Linked DNA regions of Homo sapiens: all the other regions are linked to region 4. The links are contacts of gene promoters, found by promoter capture Hi-C in blood cells and fetal thymus (Javierre and others, 2016). All regions are on one chromosome and are shown on one strand. The core of a region is centred on a gene start or on the middle of the fragment in contact, and the rest is flanking DNA. Distances in the headings are between cores, read along the strand shown. Region 1 has its middle 330 kb from the start of CWC27. Region 2 overlaps SREK1IP1 (SREK1 interacting protein 1). Region 3 overlaps CWC27 (CWC27 spliceosome associated cyclophilin). Region 4 holds the start of DIMT1 (DIM1 rRNA methyltransferase and ribosome maturation factor). Region 5 has its middle 270 kb from the start of CWC27.

Region 1 (4,865 bases), core at 602-3,101, 2.7 Mb before region 4:
TTAGAAGGCTTTCAGTGGCCTGGATGAGACAGATTTGATTTATTAATCAGAATTGTTTCAAGGAGACAGAAACCACCTCAAAAAGTTCAATTAAAAATGAGAAACTTCTTGGTTTCAGTAACTGAATCACAGAAAGACAAGGGAGCTGCTGGCCAGCAAGGGATGGATGGGGGAATGGAGTGCTGCCAGGACCCCTTTTCTACTTTTGCCCTCATCTCTGTGCATCTTGGAAAGTTTGCTGTTCATCTTTCAGGCCTGGTAGGGTACATGGCCTGTTGGTGGCTCTGAGATCACATCTCTACAGCTTCTAACTAAAGGAGACATTTTGTCTCTGATTCAGAATAGATTCAGAATACAAGTTCCCAGGAAATGCTGGGATTGGCTGGGCTCGGATCATGTGCTAATGTCTGGACTCAATTCTGTGGCCAAAGTACCTCTCCCCTTGGAGAGATAAGAGCATTGTCTAAGGGACATGGTCACCCCAATGGTCAAGGAAGTAAGGTCTGTTACCAGGAAGGCTGTAGGAAGATGCCGGCAGTCCCGGGCAGACACAAAAGCACTCTGGATATTCAGGTGATAGAATTGACACAAAAGCACTTCAGATATTCTGGTGGTAGAATTAACTGAATTTGGTGATTGACTGATTGTGGGGGAAAGGCAGCAATGAGCCAAGGATGACACTTAGATTTCTAGCTTGGGCAAATAGGAGGATGTGGGAGCCATTCTCTGAGACAGGAAACACAAGAATAGAAAGAGATGGTTTGAAAGAGAAAGTGAGTTCAGATTTGTACCATAGGAGTGCTGAAGAGCACATGGGACGGCCAATTTGAGATGCCCAATAAGGGCCTGATGCACAGAAGAAACAGCCAAGCTGGACAGAGATTTGGGAATCATCAGCACTGGCAGGGTCACTGCAGCCCCCGATTGGATGTGATCTTCCAGGAAGAATGGAGAGTGAGAAAAGAGGAGGAACTCTGGGGGCACCAACATCCAAAGGAAGATCAGAGAAAACTAAGAAGTAGCAAGAGAGAGGAAGAAACCAGGAAAGAATCCTATTATTGTGTGAATTATGGTTCATAATGGTTATGAAAGCTAGCACGGAGAATTAAAAAGTGATGGGAAGTGGAAGGGAGAGGACATGCCCTCTAGTTTCTAAGAAGCTCACAATCTGTAAGACCAGATAAGATCAGAATACATCAGCTAACAATGCAAGTAATGTATGACAGGTACCAACATGAGTTCTAGGAGGAGGAAGACAGCAGGAGCATTATGGATTGGGGTAGCCAGGGGAAGTAGGATATAAGTAGACCCTAAAAAGTGGGTAAGACTTGAATAGCTGGACACTGGGATTGGAGAGAGGAAATTCGGGTTAGAGGAATTTCAGGTTGGAGGAATTTCACGCGCAAAGGAGGAACTACACCAGGAGCACTCAGGAGATGTGCTTATGTTGGGGACTGATGACAGATTATTTTAGGAGGGTAAGCTTGGCCAGATGGAGAGGGCTTTGAATGCCAGGCAAAAACACCTGGTAATAAACTTTAGTTAGTAGGCAGCCTTCAAAGGTTTCAGATACTCCCTAAAAGAAACTGACTTGTGTTATTTTCTTACCCCTTCAAAGCATCCCTGTGAGACCAGTCCCTGTTATCTAAACGTATTTTTCTCCTATCATGTCGTGTCTTCCTTTGTTGACTTTATTTCTAAAAATATTAGGTGTGACTCTGACACTTTTGGTATCTGGGACTGCTCAGCAGCTTTCTCTAGCAGGTAGTTAAGTTTTCTTTTCTTCTACCCTATTACTTCCAGTTCCATCCCTCAGGGACCATGAGAAACAATTCCACTTCTCCTTATGTTTATATTCGGAGGATGCTTATAGAGTTTCCACATTCCCTGTGCTTTGAGCTCAGCCAAGGTATACATACTTAATTCTTTTAATCTCTCCCCCTAAGTCACTCCCTGTGGCCCCTTAAGCATCCTAATTGCTCTTCTCTGAAAGGCAGCCAGCTCATTATGTGCATCTTCCTTGGGAGGCAATGAGGAACATAGTATTCCCCGTGTGGTCTCACTAGACTCATATATTACCTCCCAGTTGCATCCCACGACTGGACATGTGGAGCCGCACTCCTTCTGCTCCCCGCTCCCTACAGTGCGCCCTGGCCTCAGTAAATCCCTTATCTCAACAGGTTATCTCCCATTTCCAGGTGGCCTGTTCCAAAGCTTGGAACCTGTGTTCACCACATGTTCAACCCCCAGCTCCCGCCTCAGGAGGTCTCTTACTGGGGAAGGTGGCCCGGAACCAGGACGAGTATCTGTGGAAAATTGCAGCTAAGCTTGCGTAAGTAAACCTTGGAAGAGGAGAGGCTGCGGAGTGCCCAGAATTAAGAGATGCCGCATCCTGCCATGAGCTCCCCGGCCTGCCCGGCTGTGACAGTATTCAACAAGGTGCAACTTGGAGGCTTCGCCTCTGTTTCCAATTATCCCTTTTATCTCTGCTCTAGCCCCTCTCCTTACCTAAGTGTTTTCATAGCTCTCAGTCATTACTGTTTAGCTTTGTGAGGATAAACGTGAAACCAAACAAATTATACATATCCTGTCTCAAGATGTGTTATCACCCTCTGACTAGAAACCCCCAGAAGCCTGCGGCTTTTGAAAGTTCTAGGTTTTTTTTTAAGCTTTGAAAAAAAAATGGTGGCAGAGGTTAAACTGCCTTTGAGAACGCCAAATGTTTGGATTTCAGTGAAGGTTGACATGGAAACCCACCTGAGGCTTCCTCGAGTGTCTCGGGAGGTAATAAAACCCGAGCTGGATGCTCCTGCTGCTGGGGGAGGAACAGCTCCCAGGGCGGCCAGGTGGGGGCGGCGGGGCCTGAGGAAGCTGCCCGGGGCCGCACAAAAGGGAAATCGAGGAGAGGAAGCCAAAAGCCAGAAAGGGCACGACGGGGGCGTGGGTGCGGGTGTCCGGGGAGACCTCGGCCGTCCCAGAACTTTCCAGGGCCCGGGGACCTGCGCCGCCCCGACTGGAAAGTTGGTGTTTTTACTCGAAGCCCTTTCTCTGGGCAGTTTAATAACAAACAGCGGCCGCAGCAATGGCGTCCGCGCCGGCAGCGTCGGGGCGCCCGGAGGCGGGGCGCGGCGGGGCGGGACTCTCCTCCCGCTCGGGCCCGGGGCGACCGGCGCACCCCACAGCCGCTCCCGGCGGCCGCCGAGGCGAGGGGCGGCAGAGAAAGGTCGGGAGCACTGAAGCACCGGGGTTGCCGGAGGCGAGGGCACCCAAGTTTATGCAGCTTGGGGTGGACGCTCGACTGCTGAGCTGCAAATACACAGAAAGCTTTGCCCACCGCTCGCCCCGTAGGTTCATCGCTTTATTCCCATCTACACCCAGGCACAGGAGAACTAAAGTGAAGAGAATTATCTTATGTTGGTTTCTTGGGGAGGAGGCGTGTGGAGGGGAGAGAGCCCTCCGGGAGAGACGAGGGAGAAAGGCAGAGGGAACCCATAGGGAGAGGAAGCAGGACGCCAGTGCTGCTTCCTAACACCTCTCTTTGTCTCCATTCAACACGGATTCCTCCCCATGGTGGGCCAGCCTTAGAGGACACATTCGTCTTTGCCCCCAAGGCCACCACAGACTCTGTGTTTCTACCCTGAGTACTAGAGGATGCCCTAGAAAAGAAATCTTGAGGACCTCTCTCTTTGAGACTTTGAGGGCCTCCACCTTCCAGCCACTGTTTCGTCCAAATCTGGGTTATCCATTCAGTAAAGGGTTGCCAGCTGAAATACAGCACACTGAGTTCCATATGAATATCAGATAGACAACGACAAATTTTGAGCATGAGTATGACCCACACAAAAATTCGTGTGCGTTTGTTTTATTAACTCTAGCAATCCTAATTCAGTACGTATTTCTGATTCTTCTTCAATTCCCGTCCAGACAGCAACCCTCTGAGACAGGAAGGGAGCGTGCTCTCACCAGGCACCATTTCCTGCCTCTCCCTCGGTCCCCTCTAAAATTGGTAAACCTCAGGTGTTTTCTAGGGAAGTCCCACCGTAAGTGGAGAAAGAATAAAGATGGGAGTAGAGATCAGGGGTGAAGTAGTTTAAGGTCACCTAACCAAAAATTGGAAATTTCAAACGCAAGAGCTGAGTTCTCCTTTATTGGAGGAATTAACAAGATGTGCTGTGAACATAAGAGTTAAATAGTAGTCGCCTTTTGTAAGCAACTCTAACAGAGGTTTACATTTGGGATTAATAGTAAACTCCCCAGGCCTTACTGACAGAAGAATGTAGTTGCCCAAATAAACAATGTTTTGATCGGGACTCGAGACCAACCCTCCGAGCACTCAGCCTCTTCCTAGCAGGAGCATTTCCCAACTCTGAAGTAATTTGTAATGTGCTGGGAAAACATTTTCAAAAAATGGATATCTAAGATACCATAAAAGGGAAAACAGTTCTCGCTTTTGAAGTAAGAAATACCATTTGCAGTAAAATTTCTTCCGTTTGCATTTCTGAATTATGTCTTGATAAAGCTAGGCTTACAGTGCCCGAGTGCTGCCTCCGACCTAGTAAGGAAGAGTCTAATGGAACAGTGTGGGTCTGGGGTTTACTGTCCTCTAAATATTATACTGTCTTCTTGGTACATAAAAATAAGAATACCTCCCAATGATGGGATTACTGTAACTGGCCTTTACTTCCCACTGTAGGCTTCCTGGAACTGGCCTTTCAGACTGGAAGACCCCTCAGCACAATTTTGTCACACCGTCTCTCAGCGGCCACTGTTCCTTCAAGGGTAGAAAAAGTTAACATTTCCCAATAGCACTTTGACTAGAAACATGAATGTGCTGAGAAGCACAGAAAACATATTGTTTTACTGGG
Region 2 (4,772 bases), core at 2,186-4,685, 2.4 Mb before region 4:
CAGCCTCCCAAAGTTCTGGGATTACAGGCATGAGCCACCGCGCCCAGCCTCTCTGTCTCTTCTTACACCTTTTTTCTTCACGGATTAATTGTACTTTGTGAGGCATGTAGACTAAAGAGTTTTATACATTTCATATCAGTATAAATCTCATATCAGTAAACAGCTCTTTGATTGGTTTGCTAGTTCTCCTTTTGGAGTCAAATGATTATGAAGCCTTTTTTTAATTTTTATTTGTTTATATATATATTTATTTGGAGACAGAGTCTCGCTCTGTCACCCAGGCTGGAGTGCAGTGATGCAATTTCAGCTCACTGCAACCTCCGCCTCCTGGGTTCAAGTGATTCTCATGCCTCAGCCTCCTGAGCAGCTGAGATTGCAGGCATCCACCACCACGCCTGGCTAATTTTTGGAATTTTAGTAGAGATGGAGTTTCACCATATTGCCCAGGTTGGTCTTGAACTCCTGGCCTCAAGTGATCCACCCACCTCAGCCTCCCAAAGTGCTGAGATTACAGGTGTGAGCCACCACACCTGGCCTATGAAGGCATTTTTAATGGACTATTAAGACATCTGCTATTTCAGAATACTTGCATTGAGAAACTCATTTAGCCTATTTTTTAAATTATCTTATTAATTAACGAAGTATTAATGTTTTAGTAAAAAATGACTAATTTCTACTGCTTTGTCTACTTTGACTTTAGTACAGTATTTGGGGTCCCAAAGAAAGGAGTGTGTCTATGAATTTTTAATATAAATGGTAGAAAAATAAAATACTTGGAATTTTACTTTGCATCAACTTAAGCAGAACATATATATTATATAAATAGATATTACCACTTATAAAATATGGCTGCAGTTTGAATTTTAAAAGCAGAAGTAATTGAAATTGTCTTTATAGGTTCCCCGATTGTAACTAAAACCATAATGGAGTAACCAAATATAAAACTTGTTACTAAACAAAATTAATCTAATTGACTCTAATCCAATTAAAAATGAAAAGAATGGGTCCTGTGACAGAAGTAATTGCAATTTCTAATTACTTAGTACTAAAAAACTTAGTTACTTAAGCTGTATATGTTTAAATTTAAGCGATTCTAGGAAATATTTTAATGTAATGAAAATGTCAGGCTTCCCTAAATTCCAAAATAGACAATAGGAAAAATATATTAAGTTCTAAGCATCACTGTTAAAATTCCCAGTGACTAAGTTGTTGCCTTTGGAAAGATAGGTGATGTAAAATTTCAAGGAAATAAATTTAAATCGAATATGACATTCCTTTGCGGACCACTGACCAACCTGAAGCAAGTGTTGAGGACTCGCCATCTTTCTCTCAATTTTTCTCAGTCCTTTTATTTTTGTCCCTTCTTTTTGGTTTTCTCAATATTTTCTGTTTCTTCGTTGTCTACTGTTAACTTTAAAATTTTTTTTCTTTTGTGCTAACTGCTAAGACATAATTTACATGTTTTAAAAACAGCACAGATCACAAATGTTTGGCTTGAAGAATTTTGACAAATAAATTGAGTGTGTGTGTATACGCACACGCGTATTTCTTAGCTGGCAACTGGGGTCTAGAGAAGTTGCCAGTTTCCAACTTCTGAAGTATAGTCATGCACCACAAAATGATGTTTTGGTCAATAACTGACTGCATATACAATGGTGGTCCCATAAGATTATAATACTCTTATTTTTACTGTACCTTTTCAATGTTTAGGTATGTTTAGATACACAAGTACTCACCATTGTGTTACAACTGCTTGTAGTATCAATACAGTGACATACGGTACAAGTTTGTAGCTTAGGAGCAGTAGGCTATACCATATAGCCTAGGTGTATAGCAGGCTATATCACCCAGATTTATGTACACCATGATGTTGCCACAAGGACAAAATTTCTGTGTTGTGCCTAACAACACATTTCTCAGAATGTATCCCTGTCATTAAATGAAACATGACTGTATTTTCTTAAGCTTATAACCTCAAATCAATAAGTATTTGTTGAGCACCTCTTAGCAACTCTCCATCATGGTAAGCACTGAGTTGGATTCAAAATTATATGGCTACTTTAAGTTACTGGAAGAAAAAGGACCAGCCCAATTACCTGATTCCTCCCACTATCACCCAAGTTGTTTAACAGAATACTAGATTCAGAGTAAGCCCTTAATATTTAGCAAGTATAAGAATGAAGACTCTGACATCATGAATTAATAAAATTTTATTGAAAGTCTGCAATGTAACCTCTCTGAAGAATTTACAAATGCAATAATTGCCTTTTGTCAGATAATGTTTACTTGACAGTTACTTTTCTTAGTGTTACAGTTTTGTTTGTTTGAGGGAGATTTTCCAGATTGGTTTTTGAAAGGGTAATTTAATCACCTTTCACATTTTAAAACTGCCAAAAGGTATATAGTGACATGTCTCTTACTCAAGTCCTTCTCTGTCTGGACTTAGTTTTCTTTCTTCAAGTAACCAATCTATATCCTTACAGAGGTATGTCTAATATCTTCTGTAAGAATTAAAGAAAGAGGTAAGAAACATGAAAAGATGGCTCGCCAGTCAGGACAGATTTATTTAGAGAAAACAAACGTGAGAGGTGCCTTCTGGCCAAGTTAGGTCAGAGGCACACTCACTTACAAACTAAGAGTTTTTAAAGATTCAGGGTGGGAGAGTTTATCAGAGGCTTGGACTGCTTCTCTGACTCTTTGTTGTGCTTATCTGGGAGGGAGAGTTGTGTGTCTGTTCCCATACATCTTTCTGCAGCTGCAGGCCTATCAGTCTGCATGTAGCTTTTCTATCCTAGTGCACCTGAAGGGAAAGGAATGTGCTTATTAAGGCCCACTATTTTACTGGGGCCCATTGTATGAGGGTGAAGTTTGGCAGTTGCTCAAGAGACTTTCCCCCCACCTCCCTTTGTGCCCAGCTGTCTTATCTGTATGTTATTGTCTGTTCTTTCTGGCTGCTTACAATTAGAAGAGAAGTAATTTCCTTGAAATGCATGAGGCTAGAAAGGGAGCTGGAATTTAAAGTGGTGGTGTTTGTCCCAGATGACAGTGCTCCTGCTCTATCATCTTCTTTTTTTTATACGAATGGCAGCATGCCATAAACACTGTTCTGCACCTTGCTTTTTTTCTTTTTACAGTATATCTTAGCGATCATGACATCATTAAATAAAAACCATCCCCATTATTTCATACCGTAATTGATTTAGCCAGTTCCGTATTGATATTTAAATTATTTCTACTCTGTCCCTATTAAAAACAATGCTATAGTGAATAACATTGTACATAAGTCAGTATGCATTTGTGCACATAAATTGGGAGAACTAATTCCCAAATGTGAGATTGTTGTGTCAGAGAGGTATGTACACTTGTAATTCTGACAGGTTTTGTCAGCCTGCTTTCCATAAGAGATAGTACTAATTTATGCTCCTGCCAGCAATGTATGAGAGTATGCCCCCCTACACTTCCTTCAACCTTTCAATCTTTGCGATTCTGATAAGTGAAAATGGAATCCCAGTATAGTTTTTAGTGTACATTTTACCTGTTTTAAGTAAGACTGAGCATATCTCCACATGTTTGAGAGTCATTTCTATTTCCGTTTCTGTGAACATCCTTTGCCCATTTTTTTCCTGTTGGTTACTGATCTTTTTCTTAATGATTTGCTGAGATATATACATAGGGATAATTGCTCTTTTTTGGTCCTATGAGGCGCAAATATTTTTTCCTCAAGTTTCCACGTGTCTTTTGAGTTTGCTTTTGGTGGTTTTTGCCATTCAGTTTTTTTCCAATGTCAAATTTATAAGTTTTTATATAATGCCTTTTGGATTGCAGGTCATGATTAGAAAGGAAAATTTTGAGGTGGGCACACTGTATTACTCTGAACAGCCTTAGCAAACTTCAAAAAGGAATGGAGCCAAGAACTGCACGGGAGCCCAAGGCAGGGAAGTAGGTAACTTAGCTGAGTAAGGACCTCACAATATAGCTCTACTATAGTCACTTTGACATGGATTTTGAGTACCGTTATATCAGCCAGGGTTCTTATTCCAAACGATAGAAACTGACTAGTTAACTTAAGCAGAAAAGGAAAGATATCAGCTAGCTCAGTGAATCTAAGCAAAGCCTGCATAATAAGGGTCAGAAAATAGAAATGACCCAGGGAACCCATATCCAAGATCCTGCACAAGCCCAAACCTGGTTAGGGCTGCTACTGCCAGTGACATCAGTGCCCCTGGAAACTGGATCCTGACAGCAGAATGAATTAACTTTCCCCACTTTATTGTGTCACTTGCCTCAGATCTATTAAGTCAGTTGCCTCAGATTCAAACTCTTGGGTAGAAGCATTCAGTTGCCCAGACAATCACGAAAATTAAAGACTAATGAAGCTGAAATAATAATTTAACCAAAGACTGGTGAGGAACTAGCTGATGTAAAGTACTTTATTTAGAGTTCTGGTTATATTTCCCTGTCATGTAAAAGTTTCAACTTTAGTAAAGATGATGATCTGCCAAGAAAAAGTTTCATAGTTTGTTTACTCTAAAACTGTGGGATACTTGAGTGATGAATTTATCAGTGCCTTTTGTCATGAGTTCAATTCTAATACATGCAGAGATAAGATTATTTCAGATCTATTACAACATTTTTATTCTGTTGTAGTAATAGTAATGATGCATTTAGCATAATTTTATTCAGTATTTTTTTAGCATCTACAGTTTCTATGGAAACAGATTTAACGCTGACCCCAATTCTCTGAGCTTTTCTCAACATGCAGTTGTTTTCAA
Region 3 (4,280 bases), core at 1,660-4,159, 2.4 Mb before region 4:
AAATGTGATATATACATATGATGGAATATGACTGTCACAAAAAGGAATGAAATACTCATACATGCTACAAAATGGATGAACTTCAAAAACATGCTAAGTGAAAGAACCCAAACACAAAGTCACATATTGTCTGACTCCATTTATAAGAAATATCTAGAATAGGTAAATCTGCAGAGATGGAAAATAGATTGGTGGTTGCTGGGGGCTGTGGGTGGAGGAGGGGTATATTAGTCCATTCTCACACTGCTATGAAGAAATACCCAAGACTGGATAATTCATAAAGGAAAGAGGTTTAATTGACAGTCCCACATTGCTGGGGAGGCCTCAGGAAACTTACAATCATGGCGGATGGCAAAGGAGAAGCAGGCACTTTCTTCAGGCAGCAGGATGGAGTGAGCGCAAGCAGGGGAAATGCCAGATGCTTATAAAACCATCAGATCTCATGAGACTCACTCATTATCACAAGAACAGTAAGGGAGAAAATGCCCCTATGATCCAATCACTTCCACCTGGTCCTGCCCTAGACATGTGGGGATTATGGGGTTTACAATTCAAGGTGAGATTTGGGTGGGGACACAGAGCCAAACCATATCAAGGGGAGAATAGAGAATGACTGGGTTAATGGATACAGAGTTTTCTTTTGGGGTAATAAAGTGTTTTAGAACTACATAGAGGTGCCGGCTGCACATTATAGTGAATATACTAAATGATGTTGAACTGTACACTTTAAAATGGTTAGTTCTATTTTATATAAACTTCACCACAGTTTTTTCAAAAAATCCGTTAGGTGGAAGGAAAGAAATTTTACATCACTGAAATTAGTTCTGTACTTACATTAGGTAAGCACAAGAGGAAAACATATGTAGTATGAAGTACTGAATAAACAAAAGCTATTATTTTTGTTGTTGTAAAAACAAACAAAAAGCAAATAGCAACAAAGCAGGTTGTGGTTGAGCCAATCATCGAGTTAGGCAGTCATGATTCAATCACATGCTGAGGGTTACAAAGCAGAAAGATGGAAAAAGCACAGTTCCCTAAAGATTTCACTGAGCTTCCCTAAAGATTTCACCAGATTTCTTGACATACAGGAGGATAAATGTCTTTATTATTTAAATCATTTTGAGTTGGGTCTTCTATTACCTGCAACTGAATACAACCTGAATATAACTCATTCAATGAAAAATATTTATCAAGTATCTACTGTGGGCCAGGCATTTTACTGATACAGTTACTGACATAATTTATAAAGTTCCTATTTTAGTGTCTTGGAGACACCCTCATAATTATTTATATTTGCAAAGTATAACTGGATATACAATGCATATTTTAAAAATTATAATCTGTATTCTAACAACTGTATTTAGTACACAGTACATAAGAAGTAGAAAGGAAGACCAGCTGATTTTTGCTTAGTCCCTTCTCCCATTGCAGGGCAGTTGGGCTGCATTTACAAGAGCTCCCTAGTGCAGACAAATTCCCTCTGGTTACAAATAGATACTATAAAAACCAAAAGGTCTTAAAGTATCTCTCCTATATTCCTAGGTAACCATTTCATCAGTTACACTAACACTGTATGTAGCAGTCAGGAGTTTGAGTCTTGCCTTTTGCTAGCTATACAGTCTTAAACTCCATTTTCTCATAAATCTAATAACATAAATTAAGGCACAGTGTCAATCTGAAGATTAAATAATATGAAAGCAAACTACACATTTTCAAGTTCAACACAAATGTGAGGTCAAACTAATATCTTCACTCAAATGCTACAAATTCATATTCAAATTTGAATATAAAATATACCCCAGTATATATCATATAATGAATATTCATCTAGACCCATAATAAGCAGCCAACCAATACTTTTTGAGCACTGTGCACATGATCAGATTTGCATTTTCAAAATGTCACTCTTACCCAGTGTGAATATATTAGAAAGAGACATGACTGGAGAGAGAGGGGGAGTGAGAGAGAGAGAGAGAAAGAAAGCAAGAGACAGCGCAAGTGCATGCGACAGAGAGCCAGTGAGAGAATGCAAGCAAGCAACTACTATCCTGAGGTCATTACATAACTATGGCTTATCTTGAGATACACAGATTCAAGAACTACTTATGAAGCAAGATCCATAAAACCCAGATATATGTTACCTGTGACGGAAAAAGGACATGAAAGAGGTCTTTATTACTTGTGTTTTCAAATTTTAGAATTTCACCATTTTCTTTCTTTTTCCTATTTCCCATTAAGTATTTCAGTGATGCTGGCTTTTTATTTTAAGATTTTCTTTATGATTTTCCTAGTTATATTCCTGTTGAATGCATGAAATTATTATACTATATATAAATGAGTAAAAATTTTCTATACTCTCTACACTATAACTTTGTATTCTAACATAGCTGGAATTTCCAATGTCCACAAATCTTCCATATCTACTATTTCTACTTCTTTGTAATTTATTAGTAATCACTATTGAACTATGCATTTATAGTTGTATTTATAGTTTATAATACTGTATATTTTGCTGCTTGCAATGTTTATTTGATTTTCTTAAATTTTTATGCATCATCACAAGTGTTTTGAAAAAGCTTTATTATTTCATTATGCACGTTCATAATATCCTCCTGAATGTTCTCCACTATTGAAAAAAGATACCTAAATGTATCTTAAATATGAAACAAAGTTCCTATTTGATTGCTGTCATTCTAGTATTTGTCACATGGTTTCTATTTCTGGCTACAATAATCTATGGGCATTATCATATATTTTGACTAATTATATTTCTTGCCCAAGTTCATAGAGGAATTTATACTTGCACTTTAAAGTAGTTATACGTTTCTTCTTCTAGAATCCTGTTTTGTGTTTAACTATGTAAATGTTATCATTAATAACTTTTTATCTAACACTCATCTTGCGACCAGTCTGCACTATCTGGTATTTTTTTAAACAAATATTTTAGTTTTGTAAAGAAATTTCTTTTAACTTATAGCATATTTATGCTTATATTTGTCACTCTAAAGAATTAGTAAACTATTATTAAAGAATAAAAGATAAGCAATGAAGTGTGGACCATGATGAGACAAGAATGATGTGAAATAAAGGTGAAGAGATTAGTAGTCACACAATGTATTAAACATTTTGATTTTCTTATCCACTTCTCCCTCTGCTCCCCACTTGTCTATAAAACAAACATAAAATTATACTCCTTCCTCACACTGGAGGAACTAATGAAATTATCAAAGCTAATAAGCTTCCCTTTCATTCCTTTATATCTTTTTTGCTCTATTTTTTAATTGATAAGTTTTTAAAAGTTCCACTCATTTTAAATGTCCACCTAACTATGCTGCAAAGACCAAAAATCTAAGATTAAGTCTGTATAATGTAGATCCTTTGGTTTTTTAAAGGCTATAAACCATCCTTTGGCTATGAACATCATTTTAGTTGAGGGCCATATCTGAGACTGCGCTCTTACTTGTTCATGTTTTATTCATTTGCTTTTAAATTCTGGAAACCATGCTTTAAAAAAATAAATATGAGTGTTTCAAGATCTAGAAACATTATGACTCGTCTAAATCATAGAAGCAAAGAACTAAAATGGGGTTTTCTGGATTATATTTTTGAAACCTTGACTTAACTTATTTAGGAGTATCCTTGTTTAAATCAGTCTTCTTAGGCTTCATGTTAGCCTTTCCAATAATAATTCTATCTCTATTCAATTAAGAGGATTGGTGAATTTGATTAAGATAATTGTTGTGGTTATTTTTAAAATTATTTTTCTATTCTTTCTTCTTTCTCCTTGCATTATTATAAATAGGGGAATAATTGTTGTAATAATTGAGTTTTATCATCACCCAACTTAAGAACCTCATTTCTTCTTCACTGTCACATTGTATCCAGATGTTTTCTGCTTCTTCCATTCACCTGGTCATGGATTGCAATTTACCATTCATTCTTTCTAATGTTTTTGTAATTTTACTCTCCTTCTGTAAAACTTGAGCTTTTGAATCTTCAAAACTTCTTACCAGAAACAAGTCTGACTTTTTCATGTCTCCTGTGTTTCTCAACTTGGTTAACAGATATTTGAGGCCTCTCTGACTGAACTACCTACCTGACTCTATTTCCTTCCTGCCTGCCACAGCAATTATTAATAATGGTCTTTGCAGATGTCCTTTCATTCTCTCTCTCTCTCTCTCTCTCTCTCTCTCTCTCTCTCTCTCTCTCTCTCTCTCGCTCCACTCCTCCCCACCTCTCTCTTTTGGAGAGGGGGTGGTATCTGGGTATTTTTCATTTCT
Region 4 (4,600 bases), core at 1,922-4,421:
TTCCTTCCTTCCTTCCTTCCTTCCTTCCTTCCTTCCTTCCTTCCTTCCTTCCTTCTTCCTTTCCTTCCTTCCTTCTTCCTTTCCTTCCTTCGCTCCCTCCCTCCCTCTTTTCTTTCTTTCTTTGAGACGGAGTCTTATTCTGTCACCTAGGCTGGAGTGCAGTGGAGCAAACTCAACTCACTGCAACGTCTGCCTCACTGCAACCCAGCCTGGGCCACTATTTTAAAAATATAACATTTGAAGCCAGGCACGGTAACTCATGCCTGTAATCCCTGCACTTTGGGAGGGCAAGGCGGGCAGACCACTTGAGGCCAGTTCAAGACCAGCATGGGCAACATGGTGAAAACCCATCTCTACTAAAAATACAAAAAAAAAAAAAAAAATTAGCCAGCGTGGTGGTGGTGCACGCCTGCAATCCCAGCTACTTGAGAGGCTGAGGCATGAGAATAGCTTGAATCTGGGAGGCTGAGGTTGCAGTGAGCCAAGATCATGGCACTGCACTGCAGCCTGGGTGACAGAGCAAGGCTCTATCTTAAAATATATATATATATATATATTTATATTTATATATGTTTATATTTATATTTAAATATATATATTTATATTATATATATGAGTTGTGTCTTTAACAGCAAACAAAAGTTAGCCAGGGGAAGGTCGAGAATGCAAAAGGAAGAGCACTCACAAAGCCGAGGTATAAAGATGTTTAAGGAAGAAAAAGGAACTTGATAACGTTGGGAAGTAAATAAGTAAGGTAAATAGGAACTTAATTTGAAAGGCCTACAATGCTATTCTAGGGAGCAATAGTGGTCATTCATTGATGAATCAAAAGAACAATTTTGCCTTCTCTGCTCTTGTCTCCAGGCTGTGGTTACACAGCAGTACACATTGGAGATACTGGGCTCCACATTTAGCTGGAAGACATGCCATGTCTTCTTGAGTTCCCTCTAATCTTCCTCTCCCATTGCGCATAAAGGATCTTCAAACCTTCTCCGCACTCATGCCCCTTGTCCTACCACCTCCACAGCTCCTTCTCTACAGAAAAACTTGCCTTTTATTTCACAGAAGAAATGCAACCTAGAGGCCAAAGCAGGCAGATCACTTGAGCTGAGAAGTTTGAGATCAGCCTGGGGAACAAAGTGAGACCCCGCCTCTACAAAAATTACAAAAATTAGCTGGACAAGATGATTCATGTCTGTCGTCTCAGCTACTCGGGAGGCTGAGGTGAGAGCATCGCTTGAGCCCGGCAGGCGGAGGTTGCAGTGAGCTGAGATCATGCCGCTGCACTCCAGCCTGGGTGACAGAGTGAGACCGTCTCAAAAAAACAAAACCAAAAAACCCAACAACAACAACAATAACAAATCACACACAGGGTTTTGTGTCATGTTAATTTTTTTTTTTTAAACAGGGTATCATGCTGTCGCCCAGGTTGGTGCAATCTTGGCTCACTACAAATTCTCGGGCTCAAGTGAGGCTCCCACCTCAGCTTCCCGAGTAGCTGAGACTACAGGCCTGCACCACCACGCCTGGCTAATTTTTGTATTTTTTGTAGAGACGGGGTCTCACTTTGTTGCCCAGGTTGATCTCAAACTTCTCAGCTCAAGTGATCCGCTCGCCTTGGCCTCTCAAAGTGCTGGGATTACAGGCATGAGCCACCTCTCCAGGCCATGTCCATCCTATTAACATTTGGAAGTGCCTAGCACAGTGTACTCTTTAGAATTGTGGAATAACAATGATTGATGAAATGAAACATATACTTGAAGATGCTACTAGGGTATACGAGATTTTTTTTCTGACTTAGAACTACATCAAAGAAAGAAGGGCCTAAGACCAAGGTTTGGGAATGTACACAATGAATTGCTCAAAAGAGAGTTAGCTTTAGTAATGACAGGAAGAAGCTATTTCTTCAACCAAACAGAATACACACAGAAAAATTTAAAAGAGCCATTACACTGGCTGGCAAAACAGATGTGGATATTATGGCCCTGGTACACACGGAGTTTATAGTCAGGTACACTGTCCTGTCACAACGACCAATACGTTATCGTATTTACAGCGTTTTGGAGTTTCTGTCCATCTCTGTCAATATAATACACTTTGAAATAAGTTTCTTACTTAGAATCCCTAGCAGTGTTTGATACACAGTTGGAGCTCAATAAATGTTTACGGAGTGAATGATGAGGCACAAAAGGAATTTGTTGAATTATTTGTTAAATGAATCAAATAATTTTCTAGGATTCACGGGCTGTCTTCTGCACGATAAGCTTCATTCTGTGGGTCTGAGTTTCTCCTGGTTCTCAATTCTGTCTTTTTGTGGATTATCTACTTTGTAGCTGGAGCTTTGTATCTGTTTAAGATAATTATTCTTCTATTCCTTTTTTTTTTTTTTTTTTTTTGAGACGGAGTCTCGCTCTGCCGCCCAGGCTGGAGTGCAGTAGCGCGATCTCGGCTCACTGCAACCTCCGCCTCCTGGGTTCACGCCACTCTCCTGCCTCAGTCTCCCAAGTAGCTGAGACTACAGGCGCCCACCACCACGCCCGGCTAATTTTTTGTATTTTTAGTAGAGACGGGGTTTCCCCGTGTTAGCCAGGATGGTCTCGATCTCCTGACCTTGTGATCCGCCCGCCTCTGCCTCCCAGAGTGCTGGGATTACAGGCGTGAGCCTCCGCGCCCGGCTCTTCTATTCTTAGTAGAAGCAACCAGTAGCCCTAGCGAAACCAGACGTTAATTCCATTCTCGCAGTTCTTTTCCCCAGGGCAAGCAGCAAAAAATGCATTCCCACAAAAGAGCAAGCTCATCCCCAAATCCCGGGTTTCCCACCCCCACAAGCTTCAGGAAAACAGGAGCGAGGCACGTGAATACTTCTTTGGACCTCAGCGATCCCAGAACCTAGGCTACTAAAACATCCATAGGCTTAACCTCATCATATAACTTAAACAGCCTTCGCAACACCGAGAGCACCACACCAACACCTTCTTATCCAGCCCTGGTTGGGACAAGGGCTCCAACTCCAGACTGCAGTCCTCGGTAGCGCGGTGTCTTCTGGGATCTGTAGGCTCCCGCGGTTCGGCCTTCCTCCCTCTGTGACTCCAATTCCCGGCAGTCAGTGGGCTCCAAGGTCCGCCCTTTTTCTGGAGGAGGAGCTCAGAGCGTACGGGAGGGGGCGGACCCTTGCCCCTCCGGCGCTTGGGCCAGAGTGGTGCGGGCGGCGCGTGGCGGCGATCCCCACGTGGTGGCTTTCTCACGCTAGCCCTCTTTGGTCCTCCTTGACGTCCCGGGCCTGTGGGCCCGCTTTCTGCCGAGATGCCGAAGGTCAAGTCGGGGGCCATCGGCCGCCGCCGCGGGCGGCAGGAGCAGCGCCGGGAGCTGAAGAGCGCTGGAGGTGCGGATCCCCGCGAGGAAGCTGGGGTCGGTCGGGTCAGGTCTTCCGGCAGGACCTAGCCTGGGGTGCGGACCAAGACCTGATCGGCAGAGGCCGGTCAGGACGCGCTCCCGTGAGCGCGGAAGGCAGGGGTGGGTCCCCGACTCGGCCGCAGGCCCTGCGCGTCGCCGCTGACTTCCTTTCCAGCTGGAGGATGAACTTATAAAGAGTTTGTCAGTCCTGGCGTGACGTTTCGTGGCCCTGGTTGGCGCAGAAATCTTCCCCATACCCATGCAGCTTTCTTCTCTGGTACTGCCTAATATCTAATCTCAGTAGGAAAATTAATGCTGTTTCGTATTTTCTTACAGGACTCATGTTCAACACGGGGATTGGGCAGCACATTTTGAAAAATCCTCTCATTATTAACAGCATTATCGATAAGGTGGGTGTGGAAGAGGAAAGGGAGAGAGTTGTTGGTTTATTAATTTTATTCCTATGAATACATAAGCGCAGAAAGTCTGCCTGCCGTAAATTAGATGCTCTGTAAATATTTGTTGAATGAATCAAATAATTGTCTAGGATTCTTGGGCTGTCTTCTGCATGATAAGCTTCATTTTGTGGGTCTGAGTTTCTCCTGGTTCCCAATTCTGTGTCTTTTTGTGGATTATCTACTTTATAGCTGGACCTTTGTATTTGTTCAAGATAATTATTCTTCTATTTCTAATCACCTTTTTGATCACTTAGTTTTTATGTACTCCATCTATTTATGTCTAAACTACACATTAGAAAGTTTGTTCCCCAGAAAAACATATAGTACTACATATAAATTATTTGGTGTATGCTAGTACCACATATAAATTGCTTGGAGTATTACTGCTTTCTGAGTTATTGATGTTCTCTTATGGTTATGGATGATTGGGTGTTAGGAAGTGAAATACACACGGTGCAGATTACACTTATGGTTAAAAGCAAGGAAAGCATCCTGGAGCTGTAGAAAGAGCATTACATAGTTAAAGGATCTTGTCAGGCTTCGTGTCATTTGAAAACTGAGAAAAAAAGAAAGAAGGGTCATGTACTATTTTAACCTTTTTAGCTCATAGTTTCCTTTGAGCATCTGATGAAAGCTATGGCCGTAGAATATTAGAGCTGTGTGCAGACATTCAATTTTGTGTACAGTTTCTGCTCTTCTGCATCCTTGAAACCATACATGGGTTGAAAATTGAAAAATCTTCGCCCAAC
Region 5 (4,783 bases), core at 1,932-4,431, 2.6 Mb before region 4:
TGCTGCATGGGAGTGCAACGTGTTGACCTAAGGACAAAGTGTGAGGCTGGTGAACAGGGAACTTCTCAGTTCCCATTCAGTGCCATCTCTTTTCTTGAGAGGTTTATTCTTGTTGCAGATGCCCCGTGTTCTGCTATGCTTCCTGCTATCTGAGTTCCCTCTGCCCCTCCACTCCTATTTGGAGAAGTCCTTATGCCACATAACACACACCTCCCCGTCAACTTGAAAAATAACCTATCCTGATTCCCAATTCTTCAGGTGAGAGTCTCCATCAGCTAGCTGACTAGGAGGACTAATCTAGCATACTTCTTTCCAGGCAACATTTGCTTTTAACAGAGGCCACTATGAAGAGGTAGCAGGGCTCAGTGGTTATGGGCACACTAAGCAAGAGGGGACTGCCGCCCACACTGTAGAGAGCAGTGGGATTTGGACAGTTACAGGTCCCCATGGCCCATCCTGCTTGGAGTCCTTTGGAGGGTTCTTCTAGAAGGGATTATGTCTATCTAGACTCTAAACCCTAGAAAATAGGAAATGACATTTGTCCACCTCACAGGAGTGCATCATGCTTGTTGATAGCGTTGGACTCTAATTTCTCTGGAGAGATGGAATCAACTCTTTAAGTCTGGGAATAAGAATAGCAAAACATCTTTGAAGCTATTTTTGAATGTTGTGCTGTTATTCTGCGGTAGGCCTCATATCCCTAGTGGTCAATGTGTGTGATTTGCAAAAAAAAAAACATATCATAGAGCCTAGCCATCATAGAGCCTCTCAGCACTTCACAGTGTCATCTCCAGGTGCTTCCTTCCACTCTCTCTCTGTCCTTCATTTACTGAGACTGTGAGGAGGGTGGTCCTTTTCTAAGTGTAACTGGGAGGAGGGGTTCTCACAAGGGGAAATCTGCACACTCTTCCTGGGTCTTTGTATAAGTAAGAGAGCAGCCAATAAAAAGTTCACGTCCTCTGCCTAAAGAGACGTGACAGCCAAATACAACACACCATTCCTGCCTGGATCCTGAATGGGGAGGAAAGAAAAGAATTGTAGGAGATATTTTGAGACAATTGAAGAAAGTTGAATATGGATTGTATATTACATCAGTGCTACCTGGAGTGTGCGTTGTGGCCCAGCAGTGGTGGCAGTGTCACCTGGGAGCTTGTTGGAACTGAAGAATTTCAGTCCCATCCAAGTGATTTATCCGCACATTGAAGATTGAGAAATATTATATCAGACAATATTACTGTGTCGATGTTACATTTCTGGTATGTGAGAATGGTATGGCAGGAGAATGTCCTTGTGTGATGAATGGGTGTGTGTGTGTGTGTATACACATACGCCTTCCAAGTGGGAGAATTCAGTCTGCAATCCACACCACCCTGAAGGTGAGGCCTTCAAGGGAACTGGATTCAAGACTCTTGGGTAGCACCATGGATTGTCCTGTGGAAACCATTAGAATCTTCTAGGCTGGATATACCAGGATGGAGATGTGTACTACGTTAGGAAGAAGAAAAATGCTGGAGGTAGACAAACCCCCAAGGGATGAGGCCCTTGAGTCCTGAAGGTATCTAGGGATTCATTCCCACTATGGGACAGCAAGTCAACAGGTTAGGAGTTCGGGTGTGTTCCCTAAACTCGGTGGGGATTTTTTTCCCCCTTGTTGGATGACACAGTTTAAAATTCCTTTCTTCATATGCTATAATTCCCTTTGGTTCTCTCCAGCCCTTTATCAAGGTCAGACACACCCCTACAACTTTGTGTGTTGTTGACAAGAGAAAAGTGAGACCTGCCCTGTGTTCACAGCCCTCTGTGGAGCCCTTTGCAGGGGTAGCAGCATCACTCCAAGGGGTGGAGGTCACTGGGCTGCAGGCTGCATTTGCCAGGAGTTGAGTTATTGCCAGCTCCTGCCCCTTTAAGTGTCTCTGTCTCCTGGGCAGATATGAGCACTGTATTCAGAATTACTAATCTTTTCTGGGACCTTTTCTCTAAATTCCAAATCACATAAGGGGAAGTGGTGAGGATGAACCTTCCCCAAACCCCACATTTCTGTAGCTCTAGAGGATATTGACTCATGGTGGAGCATTTATTTCAAATAGAAAACAGCACAAACCAAAAGACTTGAGGAAGTACCTCCTCCCACTCTTGTTTCCAAATTCCATTCAGGTTTGGAACTTTTTGAACAATTTTTATTTTGAAACATGAAAAGGTGGAAGAATCCAGCCTCTTTCTGCTAAGAGTAGACATAAAGATAAGCATCTCTCCTCAAAGGTACAGGATTATGTTACCCTTCTGGAATCCTGGTAGCCAATTCAAGTTGTTTTTGAAGCACAATGCTACCCATGAGGCCCAAACCAAAAGAACCAGACATTCCAGATTGACTCAAATAATTCCATTTTTTAAATGTAATGTTCTGGCACCTCTGTGATGACCATATTTGTTCCAGTTTTCATCACACCCTGTGATATTGAATGGCAAGACCAAGAACAAAATGCTTCTTTGAATAACTCCGCTGCCTTCCTACCTTGAGGCTGTCAGGTATGGGATACAGTTTGTTGGGAATTAAAGGAAAACAAAATTTCCACTCAAGAATTGAATTCTTTCAACAAATATAAAGAGAGGAAAAATTGTTTTGTGGTTTATTGTGGGGAAGAGAACTCTTAGAAAAAACAATAGGAGGAAATTCTCAATAGAAACTATGGATCTTTGATGAACTTTTCATTTCTGCATGATTAGAGAATTATTAACAGCCAAAACAAAACCTATTTTCTTCTTACTGTGTCTTATCCAAGTATTTAGTAGGGAGAAAAATGACATTAGCGACTATTGAGCCATTTGATTCCCAAACACATAGTAACTTGGCTTTGAAGGCAAGTCACAATGCTTCTAGGAAACCCCAAGATGGGAAGATTAAACTCTTTTCATTCTCTTTGAACTATTTGGAAACATTCACAGCTTGGAGCTGGGATGTCCATTCTATTGTCCACGGAGTTAGCTGTGTTGTCTCTGACTCCACAAAACACGAGTTTCTAACTGAACTGGGAGAGAGTTCTCCTGTACTGTGTCTAGTCTGTGTAGGCCAGACTTTATCAGTTTTTGGTACTCTGTGATAATTACCCTTGCCAAACACACTTGTCAGAATTATTCCCTAAAACACACTTGATTAATGGGCTTATCAATACCATTATATCTTGAATAATGCATATTAGTCCCAGATGACTATCTTTTCAGTTAAAAAATGAATTTAAACAAAGTGTAAATGTAAACATATTTCCAACTCAGAGTTCCATTTCAACCACTGAAGCACATCCTAGCACTAAGTCCTTTATTATTTTTGACGTTTATGACTTTGTGTTTGTTGGAAACAAGTTTTCAGGTGGCTATATCTGTTTTTTTATATTTATGACTCTTTTGTACTTATTGGAAATAAACAAGTTCTCAGTCTTCTATCTGTAAAATAAAACAAGAACTGCTTCACAAGAATCTTAGGATAATTAAATAAGATGATAGACATAAAGTAGTGGTCATATAGTAAGTGTTCTATAAATATTATGACTTAATTCCTTTAGCTCTATGGTAGACATACAGAGATTTGGGGAGATGATTTAAGTATATTAATTTTTATCTTTTTTTTTTGAGATAGAAGTTTTCTCTTGTTGCCCAGGCTGGAGTGCAGTGGTGTGATCTCGACTCACTGCAACCTCTGCCTCCCAGATTCAAGCGATTCTCCTGCCTAAGTCTCCCTAGTAGCTGGGATTACAGGCATGCTCCACCACACCTGACTAATTTTTTTGTATTTTTAGTAGAGACGGGGTTTCACCATGTTGGCCAGGCTGGTCTCGAACTCCTGACCTCAGGTGATCCACCTGCCTCAGCCTCCCAAAGTGCTGGGATTACAGGCGTGAGCCACCGCACCCGGCCTCTATTTTGTAATTAATATATTTACTTTTCATTGTAAAACAAGGGATTTCTATAGCAATTCAGAGCTTAATTTTTGTCTGTTAGCTAACTTACAAAATTTAAGCCTTTCGCGATTTGCTTTCAAGGCCCTCTGCCCTTTGGGTCCTATTGTACACAACCCTTTTCATGCTCCCAATTCATCAGTCCCTGTCCTGTCCTTTCACACATTCCACAGTTTCTTGTATCATGTTTCCCCTATCTAAAAAACTTCTTTTCCATTTCCCTTTATTATAATCTCATTCTTCCTTTAAGGTCCAGTTCAATCATTCTTTTCTTCTACAAAGACACTTCTGATTTCCTTGGTCCAAAAATAATGTCTCCCTCATAGTCATTCTTATGAAATTGAGTATTTTTAAACAATTTCAAATTTAGAAGAGGGCAACATTTACAGAAAACTTGCAAAGATTGCACAGAGATTTCCCACGTACTCCTCAACAAGTTTCCCCCAATGTTCACATCTTATATTACTATGGTCTATTTGTCCCAACTAAGAATCTAATATTGGTATACACACTGAACGCTTGTAACTTACGTTGTAGCTGACTATTAACTGTAAAATCCTTGAAATCAGGCTGTGTGGCCCTTAGTTTACTCATTCTGTAATATGTACAAAGTCTTTGCTTACCATTGAGCACCAAGTGGGAACTAAAACAATGTTTGTTGAATGAAAGAACAATCACTCCCATTGCTTTAACTGTCTACCTCAACATAATCTCTGTTTAAGTGTTTTGTGTAAGTGGAACATAAATACAGAAAAATGTGACTATAAATGTAAAGCTCAGTGATTTTTCACAATCTGAACATACTCATGTAATTATCACCTGGATTTCAAATA

Evidence for each region. Contacts are between HindIII fragments. The CHiCAGO score rates a contact against its expected background, and 5 or more counts as called.
Region 1: a contact is called between a fragment that was not itself captured here and the fragment with the promoter of DIMT1 in region 4, in 1 of 17 cell types (naive CD8 T cells). The highest score is 8.0, in naive CD8 T cells.
Region 2: a contact is called between a fragment that was not itself captured here and the fragment with the promoter of DIMT1 in region 4, in 1 of 17 cell types (total CD4 T cells). The highest score is 5.8, in total CD4 T cells.
Region 3: a contact is called between a fragment that was not itself captured here and the fragment with the promoter of DIMT1 in region 4, in 5 of 17 cell types (non-activated CD4 T cells, total CD8 T cells, total B cells and 2 more). The highest score is 13.4, in non-activated CD4 T cells.
Region 5: a contact is called between a fragment that was not itself captured here and the fragment with the promoter of DIMT1 in region 4, in 1 of 17 cell types (total CD8 T cells). The highest score is 5.4, in total CD8 T cells.

What each region holds. Positions count from the first base shown.
Region 1 is chr5:65,101,364-65,106,228 of GRCh38, reverse strand. No RefSeq gene overlaps it. Among named protein-coding and RNA genes, the nearest start is that of CWC27, 330 kb to the right of the region's middle. RefSeq lists enhancers at 2,739-3,239, 3,240-3,740 and a silencer at 2,968-3,257. The HindIII fragment of the contact is 731 bases long and covers 1,486-2,216 here.
Region 2 is chr5:64,758,534-64,763,305 of GRCh38, reverse strand. All of the region lies in intron 1 of SREK1IP1 (SREK1 interacting protein 1), which reads left to right. It overlaps LOC124900985 (a long non-coding RNA gene), which reads left to right. Exons shown (of 4, transcript XR_007058787.1): 3 at 3,826-3,939. Among named protein-coding and RNA genes, the nearest start is that of SREK1IP1, 7.8 kb to the left of the region's middle. The HindIII fragment of the contact is 2,935 bases long and covers 1,968-4,772 here.
Region 3 is chr5:64,776,006-64,780,285 of GRCh38, reverse strand. All of the region lies in intron 2 of CWC27 (CWC27 spliceosome associated cyclophilin), which reads right to left. Among named protein-coding and RNA genes, the nearest start is that of CWC27, 9.2 kb to the right of the region's middle. The HindIII fragment of the contact is 662 bases long and covers 2,579-3,240 here.
Region 4 is chr5:62,402,476-62,407,075 of GRCh38, reverse strand. It overlaps DIMT1 (DIM1 rRNA methyltransferase and ribosome maturation factor), which reads left to right and starts at 3,171. Exons shown (of 12, transcript NM_014473.4): 1 at 3,171-3,382; 2 at 3,730-3,803. The coding sequence starts at 3,304. RefSeq lists an enhancer at 2,961-3,250. The HindIII fragment of the contact is 1,140 bases long and covers 2,832-3,971 here.
Region 5 is chr5:65,038,960-65,043,742 of GRCh38, reverse strand. No RefSeq gene overlaps it. Among named protein-coding and RNA genes, the nearest start is that of CWC27, 270 kb to the right of the region's middle. RefSeq lists an enhancer at 41-180. The HindIII fragment of the contact is 8,098 bases long and covers 1-4,783 here.